2 separate regions of the Homo sapiens genome follow, and region 2 is linked to region 1. The links are contacts of gene promoters, found by promoter capture Hi-C in blood cells and fetal thymus (Javierre and others, 2016). All regions are on one chromosome and are shown on one strand. Each heading gives the region's core, a stretch centred on a gene start or on the middle of the fragment in contact. The rest is flanking DNA. Distances are from core to core; before and after follow the strand shown. Region 1 holds the start of PPFIA4 (PPFI scaffold protein A4). Region 2 overlaps FMOD (fibromodulin).

Region 1 (3,550 bases), core at 389-2,888:
GACTCAGCTCTGAGTTTTTTGTGTCAAATTCCATGGTATGGTGACAGATACAGTACTAGATACTGCCTCAGCTCTCTCTCAGCATAATATTGACAAACATTTGGTAAAATGTGTTACCAGTCGTTATCTTGGCTTCAGCCTTCCTCTGCATTGGCTGAGTTGCCGTTTCTAGCATGATACATGCTTTATTAGTGACAGGATGTGAAGTGTCTCAGGGATTTCCTTTTGGTGAGGACCCCAGACCACCCGAAGAAGAATTAGAACTTTCTGGACTACAGGTTATATACTGTGATTTTGCTCTGTCAAGCAACATAAATTGATCCTTGAACGCTGTGAGAGTTATGGACACAGACCCTCACACAGTTGAAAATCTGCTATGACTTTTGACTGCCCGAAAACTTAATAGCCTACTGTTGACTGGAAGCCTTATTGATAACATAAACAGTTGATTAATGTGCATTTTGTATATGTAGTATATACCTTATTATAATAAGCTCGAGAAAAGAAAATGTTATTAAGAAAATCAAAGAAGAGAAAATACATTTACTGTTCATTAAGTGGGTCATCATGTTGAGCAGGCTGACGAGTAAGAAGAGGAGGGGTAGTCTTGCTGTCTCAGGGGTGGCGGGGAAGGAAGAAAATCTGCATGCAACTGGCCCTGTGCAGTTGAAGGCCCTGTTGTTCAAGGGTCACAGATTTAGCTTCACTTACCCACCCCTCAGATCAGAATTACTCAAGATTTCCCTGTCTTCAAAGAGACGCAAGGAAATTATGCCAAATGGTGAATATATTGGGTGGAAGATAAATGAGAGAAGGTTGTATGTGTCACTGATCTCAACTATAGCATTTGCTGCTGATATAGAACATGCTGTGTATATATCTATAAATACACACACATGAACACATTGCATGTATATAAAAATTGTTCACACTTTTAGTGGTGCTTACTGGGTATTGGTAAAGGATTGAGTAGGCACTGTGATGAAACTTCACAAAGCAGATGGAAAAGATGCATTAATAGCCACAGGGGGCAGGGTAAGGGAGCAATTCAGGAAAATGGAGAGGCTTAGCTAAAATTTGTCAGTCAGGAATTTTGGCATTTGAGACTTGTTTTCATACTATGTATATGTAATAGACAAACCCTTCATTTTGTAGTAACAGTGTTAGAACAGCCAGGTGCCTGAAGGCAAGCGACACAATTCACTGAAGAGCATACTACAGATGTAGTATCCGGATATCAAGTTTCCCCACTTAAAAAATGGGTGCGATCAAAGGAAAAGCAAGGAACGGGCAGGAGAGCAAGCGTGAAAGGTGACAAACTTGACAATTACAAGGCCGAGACTAAGGCCAATTTAGGGAACGGGCTGTTAGACTAGGAACAAGGGCGAGTTCAGAGGGAGGGGCAGAATGTGGGCAGCACTCCTGGGCCCTGAGACCCTTCTGCGGAATAAAACTCTGGCACTTCGCCACCTCCTAGGCTGAACCAAGATGGCGCGCGGCCTCAAAGCGGCGCTCTCGTCACGTGCCCGGACCCGAGGCGCTTGGGGGCGGGAGGCGTGGCCTCGGTCGCGGCAGCCCAGCCCCGCCTAGGGGGCGGAGCCGGGGGGGGTTGTCCGCGGAGGAAGGGGGCGGGGCCCCGCGGCCGCGCGCTTGGGCGGCGGAGGCTGCAGCTACCTCGGCGCCGGCTCGGCTCTAGGACGTGTCGGGCTGCACGGGTCGGGGGCGGCTCCCTGCTGCTTCCGAGCCTAGCCGCCTGGCCTTCGGCATTTGCAGGCAGGTGAGCGCCCAGAGCCTGGACTGGGGTAGGATGCGTCTTTTCCCCATCTCCAGCTCCCCTCGACAGTTTGGGGAGGGGTCTCGTCTATCGCACCTCGGGAAACAGCCCTTTTTGACTCCGTATGTGCTACCTCCGGCAGGCGTCGGTACTGCTTACCCTGCCGCCCCTCGCCCTCCTTTGCGGTGCCCTGTGCCCTTGGGGGTGAGGATAGGGGCGATGCCTGATCTGCGGGGAGGGCGTGGAGTGCGCCCTCTGCTCCATCGGCTTCAGGGGAGGGGGCCGAGTTGGCGAGTCTCCCGGTGGGAACGGAGCAGACTGCGCCCCCATTTCCCCTCCAGGAGAGTCAGAAAAAGCGCCTCTCGGCTCCGGGGCCAACCCCACTCCTTTGGGGACGCGATTCTGATGGGCTGAGGTCTTCGCTCTTCGCGGGGGTCTTAATCTTTCCCGAGTTGCTCATAGCACCCCTGTTCCTGTCGCTAGCTCTCCATTCCTCGAACTGCCAGCCTCAGTCTGTGCCAGAGATGCCCCCATCTCCGCAGTGCCAGGGCGGTGGGGTGGAAGGAGCGGCCAACCCGAGGCCTGGTGGGGGTGGGGACAGGGGTGGGCGCAACAGGAAAAGAGGGCTGGAATAGAGATGCCTGAACTGGGAGGGTGGGAGTGGGGCGCTGACTTACGTCCACGCAGTAGGGATGTTTTCCAGCGCAGATTTTGAGGTTTTGATGGTGGGTGGGAAGAGAGAGGTCGGGCTGGAGGACTTGGAGACATGGTGTAGGTGGTTTTCTTCGAGAAGGAGGAGGGATCCAGGACAAGGTGCCACTAGGAGCTGATGTCACCTTTGAGGAGAGGTGTGCTGGTAGTTTCCATCAGAGGAGCAGGAGAGTTGGGGCCGTTCTGTGTGGAGAGCAAGTGGTTAAGGAGGCGCTGCTTCGCAGGGAGATCCCCTCCTGGTGTGAGCTTAAGGGTCCCCTCCAGGAGCCAGGTTTCAGGGATTTCCCATAGTCCTTTCCAGAGTTCTTGGATCTGGTACCTAGTACTTTGCTCAACATCCAGCAAACATTTGTTGGACACCTACTATCTGCCAGATACTATGCTCGGTGCTAGGTCTTCTGAAGGCAATTTACAGCCACGGAGTAGCTGAAAGGTACACATAGGAGGCACACATAGCAGGTATTCTGTTAACACCCTTCTCACCGCCCATCCCCATTCTGTTACATTGCTGTTGGATTAGAAAAAGAAAGAACTGTGTCCACGTGCTTTCAAACAGCTGTCTGAATTAGACTCCAACCTACACACCCCCTACCACTATTAACTGGCCAGGTAGTCCCAGGGAAGCTGCCTAAGCAAAAGGGCAGCTTGAATGATTTCCCTTGGTTATTTTCTCAGATTTTGTCCTGAGGCTTGAGGAGGCTTCGTGGGGTAAACGGTATCTCAAAGTAAGGAGATAATGAATGACAAAATGGTTATTGGGGGCCAAGAATGTCCTAGACACTCTGTGTAGTGGGAGACGCCATCTCTGGAAGATGGAATAGTGTGGGGGAGGAGGGTGTAGAAGGGAATTCGCATCCAGTGGAGTTGGGGTTTGTGCTGCTGAGCATGTCGTGATGTCAGAACCGTGTGGTGCATGAGGTCTGGCTGCTGGGCTGTAAAGGAGGGCTGGAGGGGCAGGGCATGGCAGGCAGCCAGGCTCCTGGGTCTCATCTCTGAGTTGATTGCTGAAATCTTAGAGTTGGAAAGAGTTGTCAGGGATGGCTTATAGGTCCTCACAGAGCCTCT
Region 2 (3,550 bases), core at 309-2,808, 320 kb after region 1:
TGAGCACAGGGGAGAAAGGAATGAGAGGGAGAGGGTGACGACTCTGTTCTTCTCAGCGCTTTGATGGTGCGGTTCTATCTCAGCAGGCTCCACTTCAAAGCCCTTTGCCAGTGGTCGTTAATGAGTCCTCCCTTCTCCAGATGGAAGAGGACTTTGCTGACAGGAAGGGAGGTCAAGTGCTGGCTCAGTACCTTCCAGCTGGGATTAAGACATCAGAAGCCCTGGGGTAATGTAAGCATGTTCTGAATACTAGATCCTAAGACTAAAGGGAGCTGAAAATCAGCTAGATAATTCCATCTGAAATGAATATTTCTTAGAGTCAGGGAGGCAGCCTTTTTTTTTTTCCTTTGGGCATTGCAAGGAAGTGCTTATGAAACAGGAAGCCCAGTGTCCTAGGCTTGGTGGTAGTCAGGCTCATGTTACCCTAGGAAGGATATCTGCCCTGCCACCAGGGGGTCCTTGTACTCCAGGAAGAACTGACCAGAACAAGTGCCGCATTCAGCTCTGAGAATAAACACCAAAACACAAGACCAGGCTGTAGACGCAAGAGTAGTTCAAGTGGAAAAAGAGAGCTCATCCTCTTCTGGGACAGTGAGTAAGTGCAGGGCTTCAACCCACCATTCTCCTGAAACAGACTTTAGAAGCTAAACTTAAATCTCCCTCCCTTTGAAGTATTCCCTCCTAAACTTCTCCGAACTCATCTCTTACTGCTCCCTGACACATGACCCCTTCATCTCAGACACGTGACATTTCCCAGCTGTCCCCTACATCGACAGGTGACCTGTGAAAATGACTGGCTCCTTTGTGGCAAGCCTCTGTCCCAGAATGTCTCCATCCTGCATACCCCCAACCCATGCCCACTTATCTCTCAAGACCTGGAATGAAACTTACCTCTCCTGGAAAGTCTTCTTCTGTACCAACCCACTCCCCACTGAATTGTCTTAGCACTGCTATTTAGTATAAGTGTATTCTCTTTTGTACAGGGGTATGGCTTGGTTGTCAGGTTGCTTCATTTGTGCTGTCTGGTTCCCCTATTTCTATTTCTTTTGTTTTGCCACTAGCACTCAGAATAGTGTCTTTCAAGTGAAATAGACAGCCAGTCCCCGCCTCCCTTTGCCAAGGTCTCACCATTGATCCTATTGCCTTGGAGGTAGAGGTTCTCCAGGTTGGTGTTGACTGGGGGGATCTTCTGCAGCTGGTTGTAGGAGAGGTCTAGCTCAAGGAGGCTGCTGGAATTGAAGGTGTTGGAGGCCAGGCCATTGTTGGTTAGACTGTTGTGGGACAGCCGCACATACAGCAGCTTGGGCGCCCCCCGGAAGTAGCTATCGGGGACGGTGTAGACATTGTTGTGCTCCATGTACAGCTGCTCAAGAGCTGAGGGCAGCCCATCAGGCACCTTCCGAAGGTGGTTATAACTCAGGTCCAGCAAGATCAGTGACCGGAGGCCCCTCATGGAACTGCCCACTTCCTGGATCTCATTGTGTTGGAGGTACAAGGCCGTGAGGTTCTCCAGCCCCTCCAGAGCATTGTTGGGGACCCGTGAGATCTGGTTGTGGTCGAGATGGAGCTCTCTCAGGGATCGAGGCAGGGGACCGGGCATCCGGGTCAGGTTGTTGTGGTCCAGGTACAGCCTCTCCAGGTGCCTCAGCTTGGAGAAGACCTTCCTGCCCACCTTATCACTGGTGATCTGGTTGCCGTGGAGAGCAATCCAGAGCAGCCCTGTGGCATTGTCAAAGACGCCTTCCTGGATGGAGGTGATCTGGTTGTTCTGGAAGTACACATACTTCATGCGGGAGGGAACGAAGGGCAGGTACTTGAGGTTGCGATTGTCACAGTACATGGCCGTGGGGAAGTTGGGTGGGCAGTCGCACTCCTGGGGGCAGTCGCGGGGATCTGGAGGGGATGGAGAGCCGTAGGTGTAGGCTGGCCCTTCATCCACCCCATAGGGGTAAGGCTCGTAGGTCTCATACGGGTAAGGGTCATAGGGATCGTAGTAGGTGGACTGCTGGCTGCGGAGGTAGTGGAACCACCAATGAGGGTCATCTTCATACTGGGCCTGGGAGAGGGAGAAGAGCCCTGCCAGCAGCAGGAGGGAGGTCCACTGCATTTTGTCTCTGCAAGAAGCGGGAGAGAACAGAGCAAGCCAGCATGAGTGAGACTCCACAGAGGCAGTGAGGCAGAGTAGGCAAGCCTTAGGCTTTGAGCTATGCAGAGCTGACTTCCATGTCAAACATCTGAGAGCAGGAGCCTTGCTCTCATTTCTTCGGTGCCTCCTCCCAGTCTGGTTCTGCACTTGGTCCAGCCGGACCATGGCTATTTGGGGTGAGCTAAGTGCATTTTCCCCTGGTCATAGAGTCACAGACAGAATGTCTTTGAATGGGAACAGCTGCATTTTTTTTTTGGAGGGGCAGATTCTTAGGAGCCTCTAGCACTCTGAAAGTCCTGTGGGAAAGCTGAAAAGCCCACAGCAATCCCTGTGTTTGTGGTGTGGTGGTAAGGATGGTAGTGGGATGCTCTTCAGATCTGAACCCAAATCCAGTTTGGATGTTCCGGGGAAATAGTATTTTTCTAAGAGTCCAAGGAGAAAGCCCTAGGATGGGAGACCTCCAGAAGCCGCTTGACGCATCGAAGGGGAAGAGCTGAACTACATCTGGAAAATCTTTTGGTCTCTTGGGCAGGCTGGGAGTTTTTGGTCTTGAGTGTTTGGGGAGGAGTGTGGTCCCTCTGCAGCCACCACAAGGCTCAGGTTGCCCTCCAAAGTGCCATCATCTGTAACAGTCTGCTGAGTGAGGAAACTCACTGGTTAGCAGTTTGTGGCTACACATGCAACTTGGCTGGGACAGGGTCTTCATGCAGCAGTTACAAATCCTTTCCAGACTGAGGACCCTGGCACTGGGTGTGGCACTTGCCTTCTAAAGCAGGTACTCAGTGTGTGAAGTCTGAGTTAATCTGCTTCTCTCTTCCATGGTGCCTAGTAAGGTGTTAGCACTCCTCATGCTCCACCATGGGCATCATGCAAGAGCCATGTGGGGCCAAGAGAAATGAATGAGGGACACCAAAAGAATAGCTAGAGATTGGAAACTCTTGTGTATGCTCAAGGGAAAGCAGCTTGAGGTAGGACCCTGACATTCTCCTCTCCTTTCCCAAGCTACCTGCTCCCAGCGATGACACCTAGATGACCAGGCTCTGTGTCTAGGTCCCCACATTGCTGGAAACCTGTTGCTTTTGAACCTGTTGTGCTAATGAGATAGGAACAGGGCAGACTGAAGAGGAAATGTGGGTCTGATGTCATCTGAGAGGGAAACTAAAGGTATGGAAGGTAAGAGACTAGGGGTGGCCTGGGTACCCTACCCTGGTTACCTATAGCCAATGCATGACATACTCCTGTGAGCAGTGGGCATCTTCCTGAGTGTCACCCTTGGACAGAGAAACCTTAGAATCTTTCTTGGCCTGGAAGAGTCACATACAGCCCTCACATTGCTGTTGGGCCTACTGGGGTTGGCAACTGTAAACAGAAGAAAGAAAGGAGTATAAAAGCCAACATCATCAG

Evidence for each region. Contacts are between HindIII fragments. The CHiCAGO score rates a contact against its expected background, and 5 or more counts as called.
Region 2: a contact is called between a fragment that was not itself captured here and the fragment with the promoter of PPFIA4 in region 1, in 2 of 17 cell types (neutrophils and M0 macrophages). The highest score is 6.5, in neutrophils.

What each region holds. Positions count from the first base shown.
Region 1 is chr1:203,024,853-203,028,402 of GRCh38, forward strand. It overlaps PPFIA4 (PPFI scaffold protein A4), which reads left to right and starts at 1,639. Exons shown (of 30, transcript NM_001304331.2): 1 at 1,639-1,777. RefSeq lists a silencer at 1,429-1,738 and an enhancer at 1,565-2,086. The HindIII fragment of the contact is 10,467 bases long and covers 1-3,550 here.
Region 2 is chr1:203,346,164-203,349,713 of GRCh38, forward strand. FMOD (fibromodulin) reads right to left here. Exons shown (of 3, transcript NM_002023.5): 2 at 1,129-2,114. The coding sequence starts at 2,107. Among named protein-coding and RNA genes, the nearest start is that of FMOD, 3.2 kb to the right of the region's middle. RefSeq lists an enhancer at 1-374. The HindIII fragment of the contact is 6,064 bases long and covers 1-3,550 here.